Linked DNA regions of Homo sapiens: all the other regions are linked to region 4. Evidence: promoter capture Hi-C in 16 types of primary human blood cells and fetal thymus (Javierre and others, 2016). All regions are on one chromosome and are shown on one strand. The core of a region is centred on a gene start or on the middle of the fragment in contact, and the rest is flanking DNA. Distances in the headings are between cores, read along the strand shown.

Region 1 (4,108 bases), core at 1,496-3,995, 930 kb before region 4:
CATCTACTGCATGTCAGGAAGCTGGTCATGCTGTCACCAACAGCCCCTCTGACACAGTAACCTGGGTAGTTTGACAGTTTATATTTGACATTACCTTTGATGCAGTTGTGCACAGAACTGTTGTTTTCATTGTAAAGCATTTCATTGCAGCCCAGCCAGAAGCATCCTCATCAGTACCTCATTACTTAATGAGGTTCTTGGGTCAGTTCTGTAAACACAGGGCAGACGTCGTCCTCGTCCCTGTGTTATAGTTCAGATATAGTTTCATTGCCTTACAATGAACACAGTTCTGTGCACAACTGCATCAAAGGGAATGTCAATTACCTTATGTAATCCCCACCACAACCTGCGAAGCAAGCCGCCTCAGTTTCATTTCATTGATGAGAAAACAGACTCAGAGGAGCCGTTTCCACTTGCTCAAGGACCCACAGCTTGGCTGAACCCAGGACTCTGACTCCATACCCTGTGTTCATCCCCTAATGGGGTGCACAAAGCTTGGGCTGTGACTAATTGGGATATGAGAGTGTGCCCTCTAAGAGTGTGACCCAGGAACAGGCAGCTTCATTTGACCTCACATGGCCTACTTAGTGCCCACGGTGAGGAGGCTTCACTATTTAAAGTCCTCCTGGGTGGTGTGCTCATCTCCAGCTGTGTGTGCCCATGTGGCCCTGGCCTGGCTGGTTTTGCCTGCACTTCTGGGATTGAGTGGGGAGTACTTGATGGAGCAGCCAGAGGCTTGGTTCTCAGCTCCAGTGGCTTTGCCTGCTGGATACAGGAACAGGCTGAGGTCTGTTTTCTTTGCCGTCTCCCTTTAGTTCTTGGGTGGGGGTAACGCCCATGGGGTTCTGGGTCTGGAGTCCTCTCAGGGTATTTCAGAGCAATGGAAGATTCTTCTTATTTCCCCTTCTCACTTGAGCAAGGAGTCGTCTTCGCTGTTTAACAGAGAACAGGAAACTCTTAATATTCCAGAGCCATTTTGTTCAGTGGGCCAGTCCTGGCCCTAGGCCCCGGTGTTGCCTGTCTGGGGAAAAGCTTATCTGGGTAAGCAAGGACAAGGAGATGATGGTCCCAAGCAGAGCCACTGCCCTGCCAAACATGTTGGGCCACTAAAGCTAGTCCATGCCAAGCCTTGTCCCTGGTGAGGCTGTGTCCTGGAGGAAAGGTGCCTATGGAAAGCAGCAGCCCAGGTCCATTTGAGTTCAGAGGTAGGGGATATGAGCAGACTGGTTGGGCAGAGGGCAGCTAACAGCAGTAACCCTTCCCTGCCCTCCCCAGGCCTGTACCTTAGTATTTGGCATGCCTAAGTGGCTCCATTCTGAGAGCAGAGCTGGCCCCCCGGGCCCCTCAGCTCTTAGGATTCTGGCAGTGGCAAAGGGCCCACACCTACTAGCCCTCTCCTTCCCTCCATCCCCAAGCTTCAGCTATCTGCTTATTAGCTACAATCCACTGGCTCTCTTCAGGGATGAATGGGTCACTGAAGTCACAGAGGTGAGAGGCAAAGGAGGTGACAAGCAATAGGGCAGAGGCGGCTCAGGTGAGTGGCTGCACACAGGTCTATTCCTCTCCCTCCACTAACAGCAAGCCCAAAGTTCTAAGACCTTGCCTTAACTTACAGCCGAGTCTGCATCCCCATTAAGCTGTCCCTCCGTGAAGCACCATTTGGGGTAACTCTGGTCACAGGTGTCCTGAAAGGTGCTGACAATCACTCATGGCACCTAAGTAGGTGAGTCAGTGGAATGCAGCAACAGAATTTACTATCTTATGGTTCTTTGCAGTTTATCTTTTCAAGTTTCTCCTATGAGGTTCTCAGGTCGGTTCTGTGAACACAGGGCGGGCATCATCCCTGTGTTATAGTTGAGAAAATGGGGGCTCTGGTAGCTAAGGCTCTCGTACAAGGTGATGGGAGAGGAATCTCCCTCACCAGGTCTCACCTGTCTCCACCTGAAGCAAGATGCCCTTTCTCTTTCCCCTGGCAACAGAAAAATGCAATGTAGAATATAATCTTATACATACAGGGGCTACGGTAGCAAGTGGTAGGGAACGGGGGAAGAGGCTGCAAGAAAGCTACAAGAGGCTTGGCCTCTTGGGACAGCTGTCTGGAGTGGGGTTGGGCGAGACTAGGCAAAGCTAGGCAGCCTTGGCCTCAAGCTTCAGTGGGGTTGAGAAGTGGTGTGTGGGAGCAAGAAGCTGGGCCTAGAACGAGGAGTTTTAATCTGCCCTTAAAATCCAGCCTCTGGCCTCTCCCATCAGAGGCTTGATGTTGAGGCGGGTGGACAAATGCATCCATTAGGTGTTTTAATAAATAATTACATTTGAATGGTGATATCCAATCCAGAAGCCTGGTACAAATGAAGCCTGGTGAAAACACCCAAAAGATAGACAGCAGAGTTCCTCCCTCACACGCTGTTAGTCCTCTCCCTGTCTCCTCCTGCAAGGTGCCCATTGCCACTAGGGTCTTCGTGTGCATCCAGGGATGGTCTATGCCTATCTTCACAAAGATTCTGCACCCACCCCTTTTTACCCATATGTGAGCAGCTGTCAACTCTGCTCCTTGCTTTTTCTCTTACTATGTATTTTGAAGACCATTTTATTCCAAAACACAGCTTTATGGGCTGGTTTTTTTTCCCCCCTTTGACTGCAGAGTGGTCCACCAAATAGATGCATCAAAATTTGCTTAACTAGTTAGGTTCCCTTTTGACACCTATTTGGGTTGCTATCTTTGACAGTGTTGCAATGAATTCCTTGTACATACTCGTGAGTATACCTCAAATAATTCTGAGTAGAACTGCTTTGTCACAGAGTGGCTCTCAGTCGTACCTAACATGGAAATTACATTTATGGACACACGGACCTTTCCCTATTCATGCCAAAACCTACTTTGGAAATACATAGAGATGGGGTTTCTCCTTTGCCTTCCTGCATACCCCTATACCTGTTCTGACCTTCCCCCACAACCTCAACTCTGAAACTTGTCACTTCCTTCTACGTTTACTGGAGTCTCAAGTGGTGGAATGGATATTATACAGAATTCCACATAGGAGGCTGCGATAAAAGAAAAAGGAAGAACTGCCCTGACAGCCCCTGCAGCCCCATCATTTCATAATTTCACTTTGGTGGGTGATCTGCTCAAGGCAAGGAAAGGCAGGTTCTCACTTAATAGAACTGCAGATCAACTTAGCATTTTTGCTTTATAAACAAAACAGCACAATTCACATCTTTTTATTATAGCAACCAAGAGTTAAAGAGTGTGTTTATCTTAAGATCTTTCATTATTAAGGATTCAGATCATCAGATTTCAAAGCCTCATGTCTGTAAGATCTGCTCCAACATAGAAAAGCTTCCTTCTTTGGTTCAATGGTGGTTGCTGCAATGGGATCAAATGTCTTAACTCTCAAGGCTGTCTCATAACTACAGCACAACTGAAAAAAGAACACTCAGGCTGGAAAGCCCTCCTATTCTCAACGGCCATGTTCATTTTGTCATTTTCACCTCCTGTACCCGGAAATGCAAGTGGGCAGCATTCCTTTTAGGCCTTTTCCTCCCCACCACTACTTCTCTTATTGAAAACTTGACCTCACTTTCTTCACCACTATTTACAGGAAAGGTTAGGTACCTTGCCAGCATCCCATGCACCTCCCTCTCCAGGTTAACCATTATTCTGATTTCTATAGTCATCTAATCATCTCCTTGCTCCATCTGTGGATATTTTCCTTAAAATAGCTTGTCCCTTTTTTTAATTGATGATCAATGGAGTTCTAAAGCATGCATCTGTAACTTGCTTTTGTTCAGTGTTATGTGAGATAGATATATGCATACTATACTGACACCCACATCACTGAAGCTGTAGTTTTTCACTGCACTGTCTCGTGTGAACAGAGATTGTTGGACACATGGGCGTCCAGTGTAGACTGTCAGCGTTGTGCCCTACCAAGCCTTACTGGCGCTTGAGGCAAAAGAAAAATCAGTACTACTGCCTTTATTTAAAATCTTGATATTTTGTTGGGTCATGGATGTTTTTCTGTATTGTTTTATTCCAACGGCTGTTTCACACCTTTATGAAAAAGTTGCTCTCCTCCCACTCGGATCTCCAACGCTGTCTCTGAAGAGT
Region 2 (3,600 bases), core at 559-3,058, 930 kb after region 4:
CCCACTTGTGGTTTTGTGGTTTGCTTATAGCTCTATCCATATGTGGAAGGTTTTTTTTTTTTTTTTTTTGGAGACAGAGTTTCACTCTCGTTGTCCAGGCTGGAGTGCAATGCTGCGATCCCGGCTCACCACAACCTCCGCCTCCTGGGTTCATGCAATTCTCCTGCTTTAGCCTCCTGAGTAGCTGGGATTATAGGCATGCGCCACCACGCCTGGCTAATTTTGCATTTAGCAAAATTAGCAAAATGTTGGTCAGGCTGGTCTCAAACTCCCGACCTCAGGTGATCCGCCCACTTTGGCCTCCCAAAGTGCTGGGATTCCAGGCATGAGCCACCATGCCAGGCCAGCTTTTCTTTATCTTGGACAGAATGACTTCATTTATAAGCAGCATCTTGTGTAACAGTCAGTTTTATGTGTCAACTTGGCTAGGCTATAATACCCAGTTTTCAATTAAACACTAATCCAGGTGTTGCTGTGAAGGTATTTTGTAGATGTGGTTAACCTCTGTAATCAGTTGACTTTAAGTAAAGGAGATTATCTTTCATAATCTGGATGAAAGAAAATCAGGACACATATTTCCCTGACAAATACACCTTGTTTCCCTTCCTTAAAGGGTAGAGGCTATCTCCTGCTTTTTTCTGTGTGTCTTTGAGAGACCACTGAGGCAGAGTAATGCTGTAAAAAGAAAGTGGACTTTGGAATCAGGCATTGATTCTGTATTTGATCCTGGATTTGTCACCTGCTAGCTGTGTATTCACCTCAACTTTCTTGTTTGTTATTTTGAGATAAGTCTTGTGCTATTGCCCAGGCTGGAGTGCAATGGTGTAATCTCAGCTCACTGCAACCGCCGCCTCCCGGGCTCAAGTGATTCTCCTGCCTCAGCCTCCTGAGTAGCTGGGATTACAGGCGCACATCACCACGCCCAGCTAATTTTTGTTTTTTTAGTAGAGATGGAGTTTCACCATGTTGGCCAGGCTGGTCTCAAACTCCTTACCTCAGGTGATTGCCTGCCTCGGCCTCCCAAATTGCTGGGATTACAGATGTGAGCCACTGCGCCTGGCCAGTTTATGGGCCTTAATTAGAGGTCAAGAGTGAAGCCTCCCATATATAAAATTAAATACTTAGGGTAGATTCAGTGGCTCCGGCTTGTAATCCCAGCATTTTGGGAGGACGAGACAGCAGGATCTCTTGAGCCCAAGAGTTCAAGACCAGCCTGGGCAACATAACAAGACCTTGTCTCTACAAAAATAAAAACAGTAGCCAGGTGTGGTGGAATGAGCCTGTAGTCCCAGCTACTCGGAAGGTGGAGGCAGGACAGTCTCTTGAGCCCAGGAGTTCAAGGCTGCAGCAAACTATGACTGCACCACTGCACTCCAGCCTGGGTGACAGAGCAAGACCCTGTGTCTATGTTTTTTTAATTCCAAATACTTACCAAACATCTGCATTTTTACCAAAAATCTCAAAGCAGAATTTCTAATGACAGATTAGGTATGTAAATTAGAAGTCTTTCCCTCTGGCCCCTTTGTTTCTTAACACGCGTGGCACTCCATCATCTGCCATTCTTTCCCATCTGTTCTCTTTCACCCAGTCAGAAGCTCAGCTCAAACTGGCCACTAGAGGGAACACGTGTCCTGTTCCCAACAGGTTCTGGGTCCTGGCTTCAGGTGTCTGTAAATTACCTGATAGTCCCACTGGCATTGTCACTGAGCTACTGGCCTTGGGTGTACCAGGGTGAAGGCACTGGCCCTTGGTCCCAGACGCTGCCCCTTTCCAATTCCTCATGTATGCTTCATCTGTCTGGTCTATACAGGAGACCAGCTGTGGTGGGAAAGTATAAGGAGATGCCAGGAGTGGCTTCGGATAGAAGTGGAGAGAACACTGAACTAAAAGTCAGGAGTTTCTGATGCTAGTCCAATATCTGACAAAAACTCATTGTCACCTCTCTAGGCTTCAGCTTTCTCACGTGTAAGATGAGGGCCTTGAACTAAGTGGCTCCAAGTTCCTTTTCTGGGCTAATATCATATGAATCAGGGATCATGATCTCCAGACTCCCTTGGTCCTGACTTTCAGGCTAATGCAAGCCACAGAGGAGATATAGGAGATAGGCTGGGGCACAGATTGCACTGAGGAAAATGCATATGCATAAACAAAGTTTTGCCAACAGTTCTGTATTATTTAGAGCACCCCTGCAAGCCCAGTTAAACCCTACTGGTGTAGGGGGTTTCAACATACCAGGGACAGCTTTAGCAATCTTAGTAAGGTCTGCTTCTTTAAGGAATTGCACAGAGCACCAACAACCTGGAAGTCTTGTCCATGACCCATCCACAGTCTTCTCCATGAACTCATTGTAGAGCCTCACCATGATGGGGCTCCAGCTGGCACTGGGGAGGGAGTAATCCTTTGTATCAGACTGGAGGTGGCTACTGCTTGAGACCTGAAAAGTCCAAAAGGGGTGGTGGACTGTCCCCAGTACCTTCCGATTTGACTCATTCATTCAAGCATTTACTAATAGATGAGTCTGTTTTCATCTTGCAGAGCATGTACAAATACCCAGAGGTAAGAGAGAGCATGTCAGATTCCTAGAACTGTAAATGTGGAAACGTCTAGTAGGAGGGAAGGAATGGAAGGGAGGAGGCCAGAGGGAGAGCCTGGGGCCCTCCATCAACCATGTAGGAGAATGTAGGCTTTATGCTGAAGAGGTTTAAGCAGGAGAATGAAAGGGTCAGATTTGCATGTTAGAAGGATTTCCGTACACGGGAAGTTACAAACTGGTCAAGTCTCACTCACACTGGAGAGCCTTGCTGATATGCAATTCAAAGACACATTCTTTCCCCTGCCTGTTTCCTTTCAGCTTCCAGCTCCTCTGTGCCTCCCTCTCCTGCTCCCCAGTTCCTTCAGGTTCTGCTTCTAAGACGGTTCACCTTGTTTGACTATGTAGTTTATTTTATCTCCTTACTGTCCTATTACAATCAGAAGGCTCAGCCATCATCCTGGCTAACACAGTGAAACCCCATCCCTACTAAAAATACAAAAAATTAGCCGGGCATGGTGGTGGTTGCCTGTAGTCCCAGCTACTCGGGAGGCTGAGGCAGCAGAATGGTGTGAACCCGGGAGGTGGAGGTTGCAGTGAGCCGAGATCGCGCCACTGCACTTCAGCCTGGGCGACAGAGTGAGACTCCATCTCAAAAAAAAAAAAAAAAAAAAGGCGGCTCAACCAGAGACTCCCTTTTCTGGGAGACAGAGTAGATGATTGAGTCCAGATAGCTAGTCCTCCCCACTGGGAATTTTGGATAATCCATCACATGACAACACCTTCTTTTATCTTCTACCTGGTTATTGTTTGAATTCACTGGTGCCAATCCGTCCTTCCTGTTCTTGGTACAGTTTCTACTTTTTCTGGTGCAGTTTCTACTTTTTCTGGTGCAGTTTCTACTTTTTCTGGTGCATTAATCTGGCTTACTCACAATTCCCTCTATATGCTCTTCTCTACCTAAACAGATGGAGAGAAACATAGCTTCTTAAATTACTTATAAATAGACAAGTTCTTAAAGGCGAGGGGTCAGGTGTGAAGGAATGATCAACAATTGTTACTGCCATTCT
Region 3 (3,760 bases), core at 180-2,679, 870 kb after region 4:
CAAGTGATCTGCCCGCCTCGACCTCCAAAGTGTTGGGTTTATAGGCCTGAGCCACCGCACCTGGCCTATGTTTTCTAAAAGAGAGATTATGAATGGAATCATTAACAAACATGATACTTTTATTAAAGGAAAATCATTCAGAGACTAAATCAATAAGAAATTGAATGTTATCCAGTCTTTCCATTTTAGTTTATTATTAGTTGTGAGAAATATTCTATTTTTAATAATAACATGGACAGATTATGCACATAGCATATAATAGATTGTATAAATGTGTAACAGTCTCTTTGATTACTAAAGGAAAAAAAATGTTATGCTTGAACATTTGGAGATTTCAAATATATTCATGCCCAATTCCAGTGATACATAGTAGAGCAAAGTCATTATAGGTGAAGCTAAAGACTTGGTCTCATGGAACCAGAGATTGGAAAAACTAAACAGTGAAAGGGAGGGCTAGCATCCAGGCATGCAAATAAGGAGCTTGTCACATCTATCAGCATCTGCAGCATCTTTGTTAATCACACAGAGTATAACTTTGCATTCTAATTACCAATCCCACTAACCTTTGTACAGATTTGAGCACTGCAGGTCCCAATCATGCTTAGGGCTGTGAGTTGTATCAGAACTTGTCCCATCATCTGTCAGCTGCTGTTGAAGGCACAGCTAGGGATAAATGAACCAGGCTGCATCAGTGTGATCCATGCCTGGAAGTGCAATGCAAAGAAGGCTTTGCCCTTCTTTTCAGAGGTGCAGGCACCAGCCTCCATCCTGTCACCATGCAGCTGAGTGACCCTGGGAGGCAGCCTTACTTCTTTGTCCATTCCCACATTGGGTTTCATCAGACCATTTGGGGAACTCTGAAGCCTGGTTACCCACGGACTATTTGGCAGAAAATAAAACTTGGAGATCATGTAACCAAATCCCTTATTTTGCAAATACAGTGAAACTCTCAGAGGCCTACTGGTTTCATAGCTAGGCATTCAATTCCTGCTTCCATTTTTCAAAGCTAGGCATTCAATTCCTGCTTCCATTTTTTCCCTGCAAAATACATTGCAAATTATAATGTCTTTTTAATAAATATTTTATGGTATTTAAGGTTTTTTTCTTGACTTGTTTAGTGTCTTGATTTCCTTTCACTTCAAACCAGTCAGGATTTGTGAAATAGAACAGAAGGCTTCTGTAATATTTGTTTTTCTAGAAGTTTGAAGATAGAAAATGCTTTAAGTAGTCAGTGCTTTAGATCTGTTCCTCTGGCTTGTGGCTTTAAAGAATTCAGATGTTGCATTTCTTTACTCTTTGTTTAACAAGTCTAACTTATTGATTATACTATCAGTATTTTCAGTTCAGCCAGATCTTGTTTTCTAGGAATATTTGAAAAAACTGTGGCTGCAAAGGGCTCTTTAGCTATAGAAAACATAATGTTTTAGCATGTATTAGTGCTTCCTTAGGCAGTCATTCAAATTATTTTGCATGCTCTGAGAATACATTAACTTGAAAATAGAGAAAGAGTTCCAGATGTTGAGTCTACAGAGTTACGCCAGGAGCAACCTAGGATTTAAATTTTTTCCACACATATTACATAGAATAAAGAATATGAGCATAATAACTGAGAGCTGGCAACACAACAATGTAAACAACTGCAATTATGATTTTTTCAAGAATATCTTTAGGACTGGGTGCAGTGGCTCACGCTTGTAATCCCAACACTTTGGGAGGCCGAGGCGAGTGGATCACCTAAGGTCAGAAGTTTGAGACCAGCCTGGCTAACATGGCGAAAACCCATCTGTACTAAAAATACAAAAATTACCCAGGCGTGGTGACACATACCTATAATCCCAGCTACTCGGGTGGCTGAGGCAGGAAAATCGCTTGAACCCGGGAGGCAGAGGTTGCAGTGAGCCGAGATTGCACCACTGCACTCCAGCGTGGGGAACAGAGTGAAACCCTGCCTCAAAAAAAAAAAAAAAAAAAAAAAAAAACAATCTTTAAAGCAAATACCTATTATATATTTTTCTTTTTATTAGAGTTATCAGCAGGTGGTATTTCATTTTTGTTGAAACTTTAAAAAAAACAGAAAAAAAAAAAAGACAAGGTCTCCGCCGGGCGCAGTGGTTCACGCCTGTAATCCCAGTACTTTGGGAAGCCGAGGTGGGTGGATCACGAGGTCAGGAGTTCCAGACCAGCCTGACCAACATGGTGAAACCCTGTCTCTACTAAAAATACAAAAAATTAGCTGGGCATGGTCGTGGGCGCCTGTAATCCCAGCTACTCGGGAGGCTGAGGCAGAGAATTACTTGAACCCAGGAGGCGGAGGTTGCAGTGAGCCAAGGTTGCACCACAGCACTCCAGTCTGGGCGACAGAGCAAGACGCCGTCTCAAAAAAAAAAAAAAGACAAGTTCTCACTCTCCCACTCAGGCTGGAGTGCAGTAGTGCAGTCATAGCTCACAGCAACCTCAAACTCCTGGGCTCCAGCGATCCTCCCGCCTCAGCCTCCCAAGTAGCTGGGACTACAGGTATGCACCACCACACTGCCTAATTTTTAAGTTTTTGTAGAGACCGGGTTTCCCTGTGTTGCCCAAGCTGGCCTCAAACTCCCAGGCTCAAGCAATCTTCCTACCTCAGCCTCCCAAAGTGTTGAGATTATAGACATGAGCCACTGCACTGGACAATGTTTTGTTTTGTTTTGTTTTTGAGACAGTCTCACTCTGTCGCCCAGGCTGGAGTACGATGGCGCAATCTCAGCTCACTGCAATCTCTGCCTCCTGGGCTCAAGTGATTCTCCTGCCTCAGCCTCCCGAGTAGCTGGGACTACAGGCAGCTGCCACCACGCCCGGCTAACTTTTGTATTTTTAGTAGAGACGGGGTTTCACCATGTTGGCCAGGCTGGTCTCGAACTCCTGCCCTCAAATGATCTACCCACCTCAGCCTCCCAAAGTGCTGGGATTACAGGCGTAAGCCACTGCACCTGGCCTGGACAATGTATTTTTTAATAATAAAACAAAAATATGTTATTCTTCCCACTCTCCAAAGAAAACTGTCCAAGCTGCCATATGCAAAAATGGAACAAAAAGCTGCAGAGAAAAGAGGAGAGTGTCTGTGAAGTCCTAGAAGGGAGAGTGATCAGGGACCCTCAAGGTGAGCTGCATGCCTAGAGGGTAGAATTTTAATAGGAAGAAAATGGAATGAATCTGGAGAGGGAAGCAGGAGAAAATGATGACATTGTCTGCTGGTTTCACAGAGGGTTTAGTCCCAAAGCTGAGCAAAGGTGATTTATTATCTGAAATTACTTAATTCTGGCCATTATTGCCCTAGTAATTAGCAAAAAGTTTGGCTCATTATGGGTTCCCAGTTGCATAGATTTGGGGTAAATGAATGATTGAATCAATAACTATTACATTATTATATAATCCATAAGCTGTAGGCCTTACAGTTTTTTCAATCACAACATTAAGCATCCTCTCGTTACAATGATTATCTTCTGGAGCCCACATTAGATTAGCATGGATGATGAGAAACATGCACAGTTCAAGGACTCATAAAAAACAGCACTGACCTGATGTGACTGAGAAGAGCTCCCCGAGTGTGTGGGCCATCTGAGCAGGCTTGGAGGCCGGTGTAGTCAGAGGTTTTTCAGACCTCGACAACCTTTGCTCTACCCTGCAGCCTGACCCCCATATGAAATTTTTTAGAGACCTTGTCCCATCACCTGTCAGCTGCTGTTGAAGGCACAGCTAGGGAGAAATGAACCAGGCTGCATTA
Region 4 (3,913 bases), core at 804-3,303:
TCAGAATACTCTAATGACAAAATAAACCAGATAAAGGTCTTTGCTTTCCAAATAACTACCATGTCTTTATTTCACCTAATTTCCTTCATTCGTATGATTTTTTACTTAGTAGAAAACAAATCATGTTGCCTTTAAATACAATTTTAAAAGCAATCTCAAGGTTACACATAAAGCACCCAATCACTCACCTCCAAGAGAAACTGGCAGATGTTTTTTCTTTGGTCACCTTGAAGCTGAATAACCTCTCCGTATTCAGGATGTTCAATCACAGTACCATTACAGGCAAATTTCTGGAAAAGTGCATAAATATACAACAAAATTTAGTCAACTACTATGAGGTTTTATTTCACCGTATGAACAGAATTAGCCATTTCAGTAAGCTAGATCATATTTAGAGAAACAGATTTTGTCTCCTATAATCCACAATCCTTCCAAATTAATTTGTAAACCAGGAAATGATTTTATGTGTAACATCAAGAACTAAATATTTCACATTTAAATTTATTTAAAAGCAACGCGAATCTTCTTTTAAAATGAGAGACCACACTGGGAGAATAACTAAATATTTACATGTTAATTACAAAAATGAGAACAACTTTCTTGGTCTAGTTATTTTCATCCACGCCGATATAAAGGTGTGAATCATAATCCAGTTCAGAGGTGTGCATCAGTAACTCTAATCCTTTCTTCCTAATCCCTTTACCTTTTTGAAAGCTTTCACAAGTTTCTTTTTGTCATAATCATCTGCAATGCCCTGAACAGTAGTCAGTGTCTTTCTGCCGTTCCGTTGCTGGATTCTTATATGAATGTAATCCTCAGTCCCTGCCGGGAGTAAGTCGTCACCCTTAGTTGCATCAGCAAAGGGGTCTGCGAATGGATAAAAAAAAAAAAAAAATCCAAAGTAGAAAAATATTTTTTAAGAAGTACTTTCCAGAAATACATTATACTACCAATCCAGACAGTCATCAATGAAGGTTCTAGTGCCTTTGCTGTTTTTGCCGGTAGGAATGGAGATGGGGGTGGAGTATTAATAAAACCCCCAAGATACTCTCACAAAAAGAGAAACATTTGAACAGCTATGTCCATTGTAGAAAAACGCTGTTATAGATAAATAATGTTATCGTTCAATATGGTCCTCTAATGAGAAAAAGATTTAGAAAACCTTAATATTGTAGCCGCTATAAAAATGTGCGTCATCTCGATTACATTCTGATGAAAACATAAACATTCGAATACGCCCACCTTAATCATTTAACCGTAACTGTGCCTTGCCAAAAAAAAAGTAGATTACATATATATCAAGAGGCGTAATTTAACAAATTGCTACGCAAGCAGAGAAGACTGAACCACTGGCCAGTGACAGATCAGAGGCTTGCATCCGCATCTTTCCCTAAGTGCCCCCAGGAGCTGCCAGAGAACGGGCGCCGATCCCTGGTTTCCCTGGCCCGGCATACCCTTTGCAAGTAGCAGGGCCGATCTAGGAGTCCACGAAATAGGATCGCCAAGGTTTCAAGGGGCAGAAGCGGAGGCGAGAGCCGGGTCAAGGACGGGGCAGGGGGTGGCGCAGGGCCCGCGGCCGGGGCTCCGAGAGGAGGGCTCGGAGTCCGGCGCTGTCCTCGGGGAAGGGGTCGCCAGGGGCCCCGTCGCCATTTTCTGGGCGCCGAGACAAAGCCCCACTAGGGGTGCGGGAAGGGCAGAAAGGGGGCCCCTAGGGGCGGTGGCCAGGCGGGCAAAAGGCCGAGATGCGCGCCGGGCAAGGGAGGGAGGCGGCGGCGACGGGATCTTACCGAAAGATTGGAGGTTCTGGATAGTGGACATGCGATACTAGTGTGAGGCCGGTGAGGGGATAAAATTCCTGCGGGGCCCGCCCGGATCACCTTGTCAGGAGGCTGTAGTGGCGAGAAAACGGAAATAAATAAGAAAACGCTTCGCCCTGGGGTTGGGATTAGGCTGGAGTGGCGGCGGCGGAAGCCGGGAGGAGGCAGGAAGAGGCGAAGGAGGAGGCGGAGGAAGAGGCGAGGGCGCGAGAGAAGAGGCGGCGCTGCGGCTTCTCGCACAAAATGGCCGATGGAGACTATTTAGCCGCGCCCGCGGCCCCTCCCACGTGACCGTCCCGCGCCGAGCATCCTGGGACTTGTAGTTTTCTGGAGGCAGCAGAGCCCGGAAAGCCTGAGGCCGGGGGCGGCCGAGACCGCAATTCCCGTCACGGAGTGCGTCCTCTAGCGCGGGGCGGAAGACCCGCGAAGTGTTCAAGCGGCCGCAGAGCGGCCCAGAGTTCGCAGGTCTGGGGCTCTCTTCCCAGAGAGCTCGTAGGGGAGGACAGTCAAGGGACTCAAGCGTCTCTCTTGACTCCCCTTCTCTCGCTGTGCAGTGGCGGCGCCGAGGGGTCGACGCTCAGGGCTAATCTCTATGAGTCACCCTCGAGGCCCCGGGTAATGTAAGTAAAATCGGGGTGCAGGAACAAAACAAGTCCCCTTGCTCCGGCTTTCAACTCATTGGCCCCCGCTCAGCAACTACCTGCATTGAAATTCCAACCCCAGTTGCAGGAGCGGTGTTAGTCTCAACCAATACTGGAGATGGGAGCCTCTCTTTCCAGGATTGGACGGACCTCCGATTCCCTAGCACGGTGGATCTCAGACTAAAGCGTGTGTCTCTGGAGGGCTTGAGAAAACACTGATAGACCCCAGAGTTTCTGTTTCAGGAAGTCTAGGGTGTGACCTGAAAATCTGCAATTCTCATAAGCTCCTTGGTGATGCTGATCCTGCCTGCTGGTCTGGGATCAGGCTTGAGAATCACTGCCCAGCTTAATCCTGGGCCTGGCATCGAGTGGGGGCCAGGTGTGTATGAACAGAAGATACCAGAAAATCAGCTTGTCAGCTCATTTTGTGTGCCTCAGAAGGCCCAACAGAGAATTCAGGAAAGATGCCAGGTATAAGCTGAAGGTGAGCTCAGCAAATAGGTTAATTGATGGAGTCATGTACCAGACCGTAATATCTTCCTATCAGGTCACGCACAGAAAAATAAACCCGAGACTTTGGGAATTGGCTCACTCAGGCAGGTGTGTTCAATTGTCAAACTTGGTTGGCTTTCTGGAAGCAAAGAGATAGACTAAAATTTAGGGATTCTTAACTTTTTTGTGTGTGCCATGGCAATCCTGTGAAGCTGCTGAATCCCTTCTCAGAATAATGAGAAGTTAAGTTTTAAGTTCACAAAGTACATAGGATTACAAAGGAAACCAATTATATTGAAATTTAAAAAATACATTAATAACGTGTATTTCTTTATTAATACACTAATAAGATCTAGCAAGATTAGGTCTAATACTATAATTTCAAAAAGCTGATAAATGTAAGAGATATTTTGTGATGTCCGTAACATCAGAAATTTAATATGAAAGTATGTGTAACTTCTGTTGGTGCGAAGTGACAGGTCCTTCTATCACTATGATGTTGCCTTTATTCATAATGGAAAGAAATGGTAAATTTTGCTTAGAGGTTAATGAAAATGCAGATATAATCTTTCCCCATCCAATTTTAGGGATCTCCACCCCTGCAGTTTTATCCATGAGCCAAGGATCTGCAGACCGCAGGTTAAGAATACCTGGATTTGACAATCTTTTGTAATTAACAATGATGATAAGTGCCATTTATTTAGTACTTACTGTTTGCCTGTTACAAAGCTTATATATAACATTATTAATCTTCATAGCTATTTTATAAGGTAAGCATTACTCTATGCACCAGGTGTGGAAATGAAGGCTTTTGTAGGTTAATGCCTGAAAAAAAAATCAAATTCTTAACTCTCAGAAATCTAACCACATTTGTGGTCTTCCAGCTCTGGTTCAAATGGAAAACACTCTTCGTATCCCAAATTGAGGTGTAAAGTTTAGAGCTGGCTCCAAAACAAGGAGCAT
Region 5 (4,110 bases), core at 1,446-3,945, 910 kb before region 4:
ATTGTCCACGCTGGATTTTCAAAACAGTTGTATGGTATACTTCAAATACCCTAAAAAAAGTTAATCAAAAGTCATTAGGATTTAAATTTAGCTTGATTAATACTCCTAAGTCACTGGGATACCTGTTAAATGTCACTATTACACCCACAAAAAAAACCCATATCCTCTTTTACCAGGTTAGTGAAACGCAGACCTCATGGTCTCCTCCAGACACCTCAACCACAGCTCCATCACTGCTGAACTTCAGTGAAAACTCCTCCTTACCAAAAATGTCTTTTTATTAATAGTATAAATATTAATTATAGATATTCAGGATGGTGATGAAAAAGCACAGAGTTGTAATAATAAAAGCCAGGGAGGGGAAAACACTATTCAAAAATCAGCTGCTCTCTGAATTCCTAAAGGTCTCTCCTTTTTTAACCTTTCACAGAAAAATTCACAGATCCCCTTTGGATAACAGAGGTACAGTGGGATTTTAAAAACTCCACATTTTCTTTAACAAGTTGTTTTCTGATATAGTGCCATCAAAAATTATTTTTCATAAAGCAAATTTTGGTGACTAGAATAGCGAATTTTAGATTTTTTGGTACAAAGAAAAATTACTTTTCAAATGAAAGTTTGCAACACAAAAGCACCTTTATTAGTAAAATTTTTCTAAGTTCAAATTTACAGCAATGATTTATTATAAATACAAATATTACCAATATGGATACATATTTTGATCAATATTTTAAAAATTTATATAAATCTTATCATCTAATTTGTCCGTATTTTGCCTTTATTGTGCAATATTGAAAAAAACTGCATCACACAGGGAACTACTTGCAAATTAGAACAGTTTAAGGGCTCATGGCCTCTAGATATTTCTAATAACACGATTTCCTTTATTACAAAATCTGTCCCAAACAAGTTCATCTTGAACTATAAATTAACATATTGGGTATGTAAAGATATGGAATAAAATATTTAAGTGTGAACTATGTTTTGTTTTTTTTTGAGACAGAGTTTTGGTCTCTTGCCAAACCAGGCTGGAGTGCAGAGGTGCATACTGGGCTCACTGCAACCTCCGCCTCCCAGGTTCAAGTGATTTTCCTATCTCAGATGTGAGCCAACACCTGGCCTTAGTTTCTATCTTTTGACTGTCTTTAAAAGAGTGGCTATGTAACTACTTCACCACCTTTCTGAAAAATTGGTTCCCCACTCCAGCCTCCAATGTATTTCTGCAAAAGGAGACTCCAAACATGTTCTACACTGAGCTTCTCCTTTGGCCAATGTCAACAGACTCAGAAACCAACTGGTCATGTCTATAGGCTATATAGCTATTTCAGAAGTGCTTTGATACATCCGGCTTCCAGGAACATTTTTTTATAGTACTGTTTTTCCTTGTTGTTGATGCAAAGGCAAAACATTTACGCATATTACTGGGTAAACTCTGTGTGGGCTGACCTAGTAACTTGACCGCAATTTATAATGATTTCATTTTTACAATGGAAAAAAGCAAGTTCATGTTCCAAATTTACAATAGCCATTTGTACACTGGGACTTCCCAACATTACATATATATTTTTTAGCTTTTAAAATTTATGCAACATAAATAAAAATTCATCTTGCTCTTCACTGCAACCCTATGAGGTGAAGGAGGGTAAAAACCTATCAGTAGATAGAGAAGTAAAAACAAAGGGTAGAAATGGGGATCTAATTAGGTAACAGCATAGACTCACTCACCTTGTACCTGCTCTGGAGGCAGATCCACATATGCCAAAAAACTGAGCATTAACTGCTAAAGAAATCAAATAGACTGCCAAGCAAGACCTAGGGCAGAACCCTGCTCCGGAAAGGAAAAGGAAAGCCTTCCTCTTTCTTTTTCTGGCCTGAGCCTTTGGACTAAGGGCTGTCTCTCCTCCACCACACCCTGCCAACCATTAAGGGCCCAATTCTAGTGCTCCCAATTAGCCAAAACTTACCAATCACTTCAGGAAAATTTTTTTTTAAAGCAACGAAAAAACTGACTCCATAGAAACTGAGATAAAACTTGAAACTAGGGATAGGGTGGAGAGAGAAACAGAACACTTCAATTTAGTATCTCCATAAATACTGGAGAGAATAAATAAAAACAAAAAGTTGAATAGAAACTAAAATTGAGAAAACTGCCTAGAGTACAAAAAAATGACAAAGACAAAAAATACAACAGAAGAAATCACGATCAATTCAGGAGATCAAAGGTCCAACCAGTAGACATTTCAGAAAGAATTATGAAGAAACAAAAATGATAAAATCCACTAAGTACCAATCAAGAGGGAGGAGTGCTTAAAAATTATGAAGTACAATCATGCACTGCATAAGGACATTTCAGTCAAGATGGACTACATATGCTACAGTGGCCCCACAAGATTTTAATTCTGTATTTTTACTGGATCTTTTCTATGTTTAGGTAAACAAGCCAGGCGAAGTGGCTTGTAATTCTAACACTTTGGGAGGCGGGTGGATTGCTGCAGCACAAGAGTTCCAAGACCAGCCTGGACAACACAGCGAAATTCCATCTCTACAAAAAAATGTTAAAAATTAGCCAGGTGTGGTAGTATGTGCCTGTAGTCCTAGCCACTGGGGAGGCTGAGGCAAAGAGGATCACTTAGGAGTTCAAGGTTATAGTGAGCTATGATCACACCAATGCATCCAGCCTGGGCAACAGAGCAAGACCCTGTCTCTTAAAAGAATTTAAAAAAAAAAAAAAGGATACATAAATACCACTGTTTCAACTGCCTATAGTAACACGCTATACAGCTTTACACCCTAGAAGCAACAGGCTATACTATATAGGCTAGGCATGCAGTACACTATGCCATCTAGGTTTGTATAAGTACTACGCTAAATGTTTCAAGACACAGATTATCATTAAACTACAGACTACATTAGAATGCTGTGTTTTCCAACAGCTTTATCACCACCAAGTGATGTTTTGACAAAGAGGGGGCTAGCCAACTTCTCATGTATTTTCCATCCAGTCTAATGCATCCATGCATCTTTTTTTTGGCAATATGAACATAATACTCTTTCCAACTACAAGGATACTTCAAAATTCACCGTGCTATTTCCGATTTTAACCCTATAAATGTCTCCAGTCAAAGTCAATGGGAGAAATCTTGCCACAACTAATATATAATAGATTTCACACTGAAGTTATTTTTCCTCTTCCCATCAGGACAGAATTATCTTAATTACCTTAGTTTTCAGTAAGTTTGAGTATTATTAACTAGGAGTAAATCTGCTACATAAAAATATAAAGCAGACATATTTTAAAACCACAGTTTTATACTAGCAATTCATAATTCACTTTTCCAATAATCAAGATCCAAAGAATTATTCCCCGTTTTAAAGTTAGAAAGTGCTACTCTATTTCATAAGCATGATAAACTTTTGATACACCTTCAGGGATTTTTAAAAAGTTCTTAGTAAAATTTGTAAATCTAAAAACACATGCATATGCATTTTCATTAACTGTCACCAGTAATACTTTGCCATCTAGAAAATGTATGCAATTTCCTCAAATCTTCCTGTTTTAACACACTTCATGCAACACTAACATTTTAAGTTACAACTCACTCCAGGTTCTTTTCTGCTTTCTTCCTTCACAGCTTTCTTCGGGGAGGGGGGTGGGGTGGGTGGGTGAGGGTGTGGGTGTGGGTGTGGGTGTGTGTGTTCTCAAGGTGTCTTGTCATCCTCGAATAGTCAATAAGCATCAAACATCAAATGACCCTTGGTCCTCCAAACACTAAAATGTATGCCTTTGGTACTGTCTTTAAATAGGTACACAAATGGTTATTAGAAGTATGAAATCTTCTCAGGTAGGAAACAGAAGGTAAATGGAAAAAAAAAAGAAATAGGAAATCTCTTTATGGCTGGGAAAAATTAGTATGTTTCCAGAATGAGCTGTTCTTCATAACTGTCTTCCTTCCTCAGCCATAAATATATGCCTCAAATAAATTAATATTTTTATTTATCATCTCCATCATATGAGTCCACCACACAGTAAATGATGACATTTTGGTATGTTTGGTATATTAAACTCACTGCTATGTATTTTTAAAAATAAAAATATAAAATTCCTTGTGA
Region 6 (3,822 bases), core at 1,287-3,786, 820 kb before region 4:
TAGTGACCCATAGTAGTAAATGGTCAACAATGTACCCTTTATTGACTGCTCCCCCTTTCTTGTCTAACTTCCTCACTCTTCTTTATTCCAATATAAATGACTTGCATTTGAATCCTTGTCTCAAGGTCTCCTTTTTGGGGACCCTTGTCTGACCAAATTACTAGGTGATGCTTCTAAGCTTCTCTGGGGGGATTTGCATTATAAGTAGTGGCTTTGAAGAAGCTCTAGCTCCTTGGGAAAAGTCTGCTCCATCTCTGTAGAAGCAAGCAAGCAATTTTCAGGTTTGGGCATACTGCACGGGTATTTCTGATCAAAGCCAGGACATGACCTCATGTGGGGAGGTGCAGGTGACAGCTTGTTCCACGGACACATGAAGCCTGGACCATATAAAGAAGGGCCTTATTCCAAGTGATGATGATGCTTGGCACAAATTTGATTCACCCCAGAAAATCCTCACCTTCTGTCAGGTATCAACCTTGGCACCCCTATGCCCACCTGTCCATTGGCAAGCCCCTGAAGGCAGATGGATCTCCCAGGGACTGTGGCTCTTGGCTTTCCAGCTCACATTAAACCCTTCAGAGTGGCCTCAAGGAGCAGGACAGCTCAGGCTTGGGAGGGGAGACCATCATTAAATAATTAAGTATGAGGTTATTCTTTATTGGCCCCTTCAGGGTTAATCATAAGAATTAACAAACAGCATGTATGGCTGAGAGCCCTGCTGTTTATTTTAATAGCTGTCTTACATCTTGAGGGGGAAAAACAGAGAAAGAGCTGAGCAGAGCTGGAATAAACCCAAGTTTAGCTTCCAGCCAAGTGCAGCATGCAGCACTCTGGGGAGCTTGGCTGGTGGCACCAAGGAGGGCTGAGATGGGGCAGGAGGGAGTCCCAGGTGAGGGATGTGGTTGGGTGATTCCTGTCTACTGAGATGACCTTTGTCAATGAATGCCTCTCCCTGTGTGGTCTGTTGACTGCCCACCTAATAGGAAATCTTGACTACGATAGTTCTTTGGACTATTTTGTTCCTAACTCATTCCCTTTATTCCTGCTTCTTCCTCCCAGTGCAGAACATACCATAAGTGACTCCTTAGTTCAAGTATTGGAACAGTCTGATATTTAATGAGTATTGTTTTCTTGCGATCTGTGTAGCTGTGTTGTGTGTTTCTCAGCTCAGTGGCCAGATGATAGCCAATTCCTGGAAAAAGCAGAGTCCTCATGCTGGGGGGTCAGAGCTGGGGAAGGGGCACAAGAGGCCATTTCCTTTGTGACCAGGGCAAGAAGGTACTTTGTGAGAATACGACAAGCTATCACTTTACGGAGTGTACCTATGTCACGAGGCAAGTAAAGACAGGATATTCCAGTCAGTGACCAGTGCTGAATCCTTACCAAGGAGACAGAACAGAATAAATATTGAGCTTGTCTCTCATAGCATCCAAGTGGGTGTTGGGCATGTACCTTGAAGCAATGACTGAGCCTGTCTTTTGTGGAAACAGATAAAGCATGCAATAGCCACCAATTCTATGACGACAGACACTCAACACCATTCAGAGATCTAAATCCCTCTCTGTACTGTGCTAACCTAGCTCCTTGAGCTTTGTCTTTGAGCTCTGCCATGAGGGCCCTAAGCACATGGGAATGGACTGTGAAGCCCTGAAGAATCAAATAAGGCAACTCTTGCTGGGGGCTTACCTGGAATTTTAGCTAGTAATCTCATCTCCTGGGAGTTTTGCCCATCCTGTTCCTAGCCTCTGGGAGGCCTCCAGCTCAAGCTCAAGGGATCCTATGGCTGGTGTCCCCTGTAGCCCTCACATACCCTCCTGTCTCACCCTTCTAGTCCTCTGGTCACTCATGTCCCCCTCCTGTCTTTCTCTCTCTGGCAGTCCTTTGGGATGTACTTCTGTGTGCTGACCTCAGCCCAGCCTGCTTAATTCCTCTGGGCTTCCTGCAGCCTAGGACAGCTTCTGCCCTGCAACTCGAGCCTCAGGAGATTGCTGGCCATCCCTCAGGGAGAAGGTGTAGACAAGATTTATGCAGGGAGATTATTCAGTCACTTCCTCCCACTACCCTTCCATTCTGCCTCCATTACCCCCAGAGACCCCTGATATTAAATATCTTTTTACTGAGGAGTTGCCCAGCTGGCCTTGCCCGTGTTTTGCTTCCTTATCAAGTGTGACCCCTTTGCATGGGTTGCCTTTCTTTTGGGGAGGAGTGGTCCAAATTCTCTCTTTCAGGAGGAGAGACTGCTCTGGGATTATTTTGGTTGTAGCTTTCCTTTTTTAAAAACAAGGATCTATGTCTTTGCATTTGTCTATTTGAGGCAAAAAGAGGGTAATTAGCATTAGTTTCTGAGCTTAGAACTATAGGAGATATAGGATATAGAGCTATAAGAGTCTTGCTACTATGTCAGTCATCCATTGCTGTGTAACAGACAATGCCAAAACTTTGTGGTTTAAAACATCAACCAATTATTTAGCGTGTGATGTTGTGAGTCAGCAATTTGGGCTGGGCTCAGCCAAGTGGTTCTTCTGGTCTTGTTTGGACTCACTCATGAGCCTGTGGTCAGTTAGCAAGCTCATTCATAAAATATCATTTCTTTCAAATGGTTGGCTGGCTGTTGGCTTGTCTTTGCATCATGTGACCTCTTATCTTCTAGCAGCTAGCCCAGGTTTTTGCACTAGGTGGGTGGATACGGTTCAAAGAGAATGAGCAGGCTCAAAACTGGTTCAGTATCACCTCTTCTGCCTGTTGGTCAAAGTGTGTACAAGTCCAACACAGATGCCAGGGGAAGGGATAGAGGGATCTGGAAAGGTACATTGCAAAGGGACATGGATTAGGAAAGGGTGGGGGAATTGTGCCCAGTTTTGCAAATGATCTACCTATCATGCTATCTCTGTACTGCCCTTTCTTTTTATAAAACATATGGTGATATTCAAGCAGCACTATTCTCTAAGTCCAGAATTTTCTCCATAGGCTCCCTTTCCACTTCTAAGCAATGGTCCTCATATTGCAAGGGGTGGGTGTTGGAGGAGCAAATTATATGAAAATTCCTGTACATCAGCACCACAGGGATCCCAAAGTGAACTAGCCTGTCCGTGGAGAGGCTTACAGCCTGGAAGGGACAGAAAGAAATGAAACAAACTTTCCAAAACAGTCCCCCAGGTGCTTTGATAATTAAGGTGAGGAAACAGTGCAGGCATTTTCCCCCCCATATTTTTTTACTTATTATTTTGAAATAATTTCAGATTTCCAAAAAAGTTGCTGAAGCCATACAGAGCTCTTGTGTGCTGTTCACTCAACTTCTCTTAATGTTAACATCTTGTATAATGATGGTACAAGGATAAAAACCAATAAATTAATGTTGATGTCACCCTATTAGCCAATCTACAGACTTTATTCATATTTTGCCAATTGTCCCACTAATGCTCTTTTTTCTGGTCCAGGATTCAATTCAGGATCCTGCATTACATTTAGTTGTTGTGTCTCCTTAGTCTCCTTTAATCTGGGAAATTTCCTCAGTCTTTCTTTGCCTTTTGTCACCATGGTGCTTTTGAAAAATGTTAGCCAGGCTGGGCGCAGTGGCTCACGCCTGTAATCCCAGCACTTCGGGAGGCCAGACAGAGTTCAAGACCAGCCTGGCCAACATGGTGACACCTCATCTCTACTAAAAATACAAAAATTAGCTGGATGTGGTGGTGCGGGCCTGTAGTCCCAGCTACTCACAAGGCTGAGACACAGGAATCACTTGAACCTGGGAGGCAGAGGCGGCAGTGAGCCAATATCGCACCACTGCACTCCAGCCTGGGTGACAGAGTGAGACCTCATCTC
Region 7 (4,077 bases), core at 538-3,037, 890 kb after region 4:
AACAAAAACAATTATTTCTTTTGCTCACAAATAAGCACAGAGTTTGACAGGAATGACTTGCATCTGCTCCACATGGCAACTGCTGAGATGGCTCCAACTGGGGCTGGACAATCCACTTTCAATACAGGTCATTCTCTTGGCTGGCAAGTTAGTGCTGGATGTTAGCTGGGAATTCAGCTGGTCTGGGGCTGGGGACTGGGGACTTTGGTTCTTCTCCATATGGGCCTCTCCCCAGCTGCTCAGGCTTCCTCACTGGAAGATGGCTGAGTTTCAAGAGCAAATGTCCCAAGGGACCCAGACAAAAGGGAATGGCATTTTTATGGCATATCTTTGAAAAACACATAGCATCATTTCCATTCTATCTTATTACTTGAGGAAGTTGGAACTTCTACCAAGGCTGAAAGGGAGGGGACATAGATTCCACCCATTGGATAGTGACAATGTCATGTTAAGATAAGCATGTAGAATGAGAGACATTTATGGTCTGAAGTTGATATTTTAAACTCTCTCATTAACAAAGACCTCAAAACACTTTATCTTTCACATAACCTCCATACCCGTTTTAAAATTTTTATCATTATTATTAGAGACAGGGTCTTGCTACATTGCCAAGGCTGATCTGGAACTCCTGGGCTCAGGAGATTCTCCTGCTTTGGCCTCCTGAAGTGTTGGAGTTACAGGCATGAGCCACCACACCCAGCCTATACTCTTTGTAAATATTTTGTTGATTGCTTTTATCTTGCTTGTTTTTTACCCCATATATTAGAAATCTTGTTACTGATTTACACAGTCTAATGTTTGCCACCAAGGAATATATCTCTAAAGAATATAGCTAGGCTGGGTGCAGTGGCTCACACCTGTAATCCCAACACTTTGGGAGGCCAAGGCAGGTGAATCACCTGAGGTAAAGAGTTTGAGACCAGCCTGGCCATCATGGTGAAACACCGTCTCTACTAAAGATACAAAAATCAGCCAGGCATGGTGGTGCACACCTGTAGTCCCAGCTATTTGGGAGGCTGAGGCAGAAGAACCGCTTGAACCTGGGAGGTGAAGGTTGCAGTAAGCTGAGATTGTACCACTGTACTCCAGCCTGGGCAATAAAGCAAAACTCCATCTCAAAAAAATAGATAGATAGATAGATATAGATATAGACATAGACATAGACATAGACATAGATATAGATATAGATATAGATATAGATATAGCTTACCTTTGCTTGTTTTTGAACTTTTCACAAATGGAATCACATATTAGGAATAATATTGTTACACTTATTTTGCCCAAATTTGTACGATTCATACATGTCATTGCATGTAGCCATGATATGTTTAATTTCATCACTGATTGGCACTTTGTGGTATAAATATACAATAGTTTATCAACAGTACTGTAGATGGACCCAGAGCTACTTCCAAGTTTGTCAATTAGAATTCTTGTCCACATACCCTAGTGCAAATGTGCATGATTTTCTTTAGTGTATACCTTCAAGGGCAATAATATAGATGCTTATGTTACTAAAGAATGCCAAACTGTACCAATTTATACTCCCACCACCTAGTATAGGAGTTCTTGTTCCAAATCCTTGTTACCATTATCTGATTTTGCCAGACTTTTTTCATTTTTTTTTTTTTGAGACGAAGTCTTGCTCTGTCGCCCAGGCTGGAGTGCAGTGGCGCAGTGTCAGCTCATTGCAACCTTCGCCTCCCAGGTTCAAGTGATTCTCCTGCCTTAGCCTCCCGAGTAGCTGGGATTACAGGTGCCTGCCACCACACTTGCGTTAATTTTGTTATGCTTATGTAGAGATGGGGTTTTGTCATGTTGGCCAGGCTGGGGCTTTTTTCTTGTTTATGGTAGGTTTGGAATGGAAAACAACTCCTTTAACCCTACCTTAATCTCACCTTAATGCATGCTACCTTTCCAAAGGGCAAGAGTGTTATCTCCTGTGGAGTCTGTCCCTTCAGATACGTAGCTCATAACTGCTTGAGGTGGGTAAATAGTGTTTGACTCTGTATATTGCGGACCAAGACAGAAAATGCCTGCATTAGCACAATTCTAGGTCCTTTCACTTCTGCTTGTAGGCTGGCCAGATCTAGCCAGAGTTCTTGTCTCTCATAGGACTATGCTTAAAGCAGCCAAGAGTCACACAGACCGTCACTCTGGATCTCTCCTACCATTTTCCTAATGCCACAGATTTGATCAAATTTTGGTCTACCCTCCAAAGCAATGCAGGCTCCAAAACCTGACCCAACATTTTACCACCATGTAATGTGAGGCACCAGCTTTTCAGCCTGTGCTCAGTGAAAACTCACAGGCTCTGTTAGTATGGAAGAAAGGAGGATGAACATGGGTGTTCAATAGATATGACTGAGAAATCCTCATAAACATTGGTGTTCATCCTGGCCGCAGCTTTCTTTTGCCTTCATTTTCTTTTTTCCTTACTAACTTTTGTTTTTTGGAAAAGTCATTATATTGTCCTAATTCTTCAATGACAGAGTCAGTTAGCCATTTGTTTTTCTCATTCTACTGTCCCCTAGCTGTCACCATTGATGGGGAACAGTCAGGTGTCCTTCCTTTTCTCCTTGGCTTCTTTCAAGAACACTTTTGGTTTTGGCATTTCAGGATTCTTTAACAATGTAAATAAGAATGGGGTTTTAAAAACCATTTCCACTTACTACACATTGGAATTCCTGAATTTGTAGATTCATGAGAATTTCGGATCATATCTATTTGTAGATTCATGAGAATTTCTTAGTCATATCTATTTGACACTGACTTCTTTATTCTCTCTTCTCTCTCTCTGGAACTCCAATTAGACAGTTTGACTCTCTAATTTTACTCTCTTTGTATCTCCTCTTTTGTATTTTTTTTCCTCCTCTCTCTGTTCTCCTTATGAATAATTGTTTTCATATATTTTTTCTAATTCATCAAACCTTTCTACAACAGTGTCTTATTATTTTTTCTGCTCATTGGGTTTTAAATTGCAATGATCATATTCTTTATTTCTAAATGGCAAAAGCACATTGTCAATAACTAGATATTGTCTTAAAAAGACAACTTACTTAAAAGAAATATATCTATATGAAATGATATACAGTAATACCAAAAAAATTTCCCTGTAAGGGATTTTGAAACAAATGTCAAACTAGCCCATTCATTTCTTCAGACTTGATGGCCTGTGCAGAGTCTTGTGTGCCACCATGATGGTCTAAGGGACTACTTTCTCATGCTAAAGACTGTACCTTTCTTTTGCACATCATAAATGGAAGACACCCCTTGGGTTGAGATAAGAGTATCGGATGGAAGAAAATGCAGAGCTGAGTCACTGAGGAGAGGTGGTGAGAGGGCCTTACCATGGGGACATGATGATGCACACTTCTGGCAATGTCGAGTGCTCTTTGCACCAATGTGAACCTAGCTAGCCAGCCATGGAGAGGGGAGAGTGCTTCTTGGACCATTGTCTCTCAGTGAGAGTGCAGCAGGAGGCAGAATTGGGGTAGATGTCTGTGCAATGATAGCTTTTTCCTTGTCCCCAACTCATTTCCAAAAATATCTATAGAAGAGAAAAGAGAAAACTTAGGTGAGTTTTCTATGGGTTGGGCAGTGGAGATGTGCACCACTCACATAGCATGGACTCCAAGAGACTTCATGGCCTCTGGTACAGGCCCCCAACTCCCTATGAGAACAGAACGTTTTGATGAGGCTCTACTTGGTGTGAGGCTGGACTGAGACCTCTTCTCTCTGGAGGGGTTTCTTTGCTGTCATTCTCTCCAGTGATTTTCTCCATTTGTCCTGTTTCTATAGGCTGATGCCTGTGATTCTTGCTTTAGACAAAAGCTTTCCTCATGTTTCCATCATCCTCACTTCTGTTTCCATAGTAAATAAATTGTTCACTTGTTATCTGCCTCTCCAGATAACTGCCACAAGGTCACAGGCTTTGTCTTCATTCACTGCTCTATCCCCATTGCTTGTAATAATACCTGGTCCAGAGTAAGTGCTTAATAAATATTTGCTGAATGTTGAGTTCTTATTATTTTACTTGAGATTTTTTTCAAAGTAGAATTGGCTAATTCTGGCACT

Evidence for each region. Contacts are between HindIII fragments. The CHiCAGO score rates a contact against its expected background, and 5 or more counts as called.
Region 1: a fragment that was not itself captured here is called in contact with the fragment with the promoter of EIF1B in region 4 in 4 of 17 cell types (monocytes, naive CD8 T cells, total B cells and 1 more); the score reaches 7.3 in monocytes.
Region 2: a contact is called between a fragment that was not itself captured here and the fragment with the promoter of EIF1B in region 4, in 4 of 17 cell types (non-activated CD4 T cells, naive CD4 T cells, naive CD8 T cells and 1 more). The highest score is 8.3, in non-activated CD4 T cells.
Region 3: a contact is called between a fragment that was not itself captured here and the fragment with the promoter of EIF1B in region 4, in 2 of 17 cell types (erythroblasts and total CD8 T cells). The highest score is 6.8, in erythroblasts.
Region 5: a contact is called between a fragment that was not itself captured here and the fragment with the promoter of EIF1B in region 4, in 8 of 17 cell types (neutrophils, total CD4 T cells, naive CD8 T cells and 5 more). The highest score is 9.4, in neutrophils.
Region 6: a contact is called between a fragment that was not itself captured here and the fragment with the promoter of EIF1B in region 4, in 1 of 17 cell types (monocytes). The highest score is 6.6, in monocytes.
Region 7: a contact is called between a fragment that was not itself captured here and the fragment with the promoter of EIF1B in region 4, in 2 of 17 cell types (erythroblasts and naive CD4 T cells). The highest score is 10.3, in erythroblasts.

The regions. Positions count from the first base shown.
Region 1 is chr3:41,241,751-41,245,858 of GRCh38, reverse strand. No RefSeq gene overlaps it. Among named protein-coding and RNA genes, the nearest start is that of CTNNB1, 44 kb to the right of the region's middle. The HindIII fragment of the contact is 1,189 bases long and covers 2,151-3,339 here.
Region 2 is chr3:39,376,310-39,379,909 of GRCh38, reverse strand. LOC105377037 (a long non-coding RNA gene) reads right to left here and starts at 3,398. Exons shown (of 3, transcript XR_001740661.3): 1 at 3,330-3,398; 2 at 2,233-2,434. It overlaps LOC105377644 (a long non-coding RNA gene), which reads left to right. Exons shown (of 3, transcript XR_007096252.1): 3 at 1-479. RefSeq lists a silencer at 1,659-1,708. The HindIII fragment of the contact is 8,755 bases long and covers 1-3,600 here.
Region 3 is chr3:39,439,317-39,443,076 of GRCh38, reverse strand. No RefSeq gene overlaps it. Among named protein-coding and RNA genes, the nearest start is that of MOBP, 26 kb to the left of the region's middle. The HindIII fragment of the contact is 6,817 bases long and covers 1-3,760 here.
Region 4 is chr3:40,307,847-40,311,759 of GRCh38, reverse strand. It overlaps EIF1B (eukaryotic translation initiation factor 1B), which reads right to left and starts at 2,053. Exons shown (of 4, transcript NM_005875.3): 1 at 1,788-2,053; 2 at 704-867; 3 at 189-290. The coding sequence starts at 1,818. EIF1B-AS1 (EIF1B antisense RNA 1) reads left to right here and starts at 2,062. Exons shown (of 3, transcript NR_033965.1): 1 at 2,062-2,437. It overlaps LOC124906228 (a long non-coding RNA gene), which reads left to right and starts at 2,949. Exons shown (of 2, transcript XR_007095876.1): 1 at 2,949-3,913. RefSeq lists a silencer at 1,643-1,692 and an enhancer at 1,963-2,322. The HindIII fragment of the contact is 2,965 bases long and covers 717-3,681 here.
Region 5 is chr3:41,219,961-41,224,070 of GRCh38, reverse strand. CTNNB1 (catenin beta 1) reads right to left here. Exons shown (of 15, transcript NM_001904.4): 2 at 1-50. The coding sequence starts at 2. Among named protein-coding and RNA genes, the nearest start is that of CTNNB1, 23 kb to the right of the region's middle. The HindIII fragment of the contact is 8,015 bases long and covers 1-4,110 here.
Region 6 is chr3:41,124,227-41,128,048 of GRCh38, reverse strand. No RefSeq gene overlaps it. Among named protein-coding and RNA genes, the nearest start is that of CTNNB1, 73 kb to the left of the region's middle. The HindIII fragment of the contact is 4,712 bases long and covers 181-3,822 here.
Region 7 is chr3:39,419,988-39,424,064 of GRCh38, reverse strand. It overlaps LOC107986075 (a long non-coding RNA gene), which reads right to left. Exons shown (of 2, transcript XR_001740663.2): 1 at 3,351-4,077; 2 at 1-263. Among named protein-coding and RNA genes, the nearest start is that of SNORA62, 11 kb to the right of the region's middle. The HindIII fragment of the contact is 4,098 bases long and covers 1-3,836 here.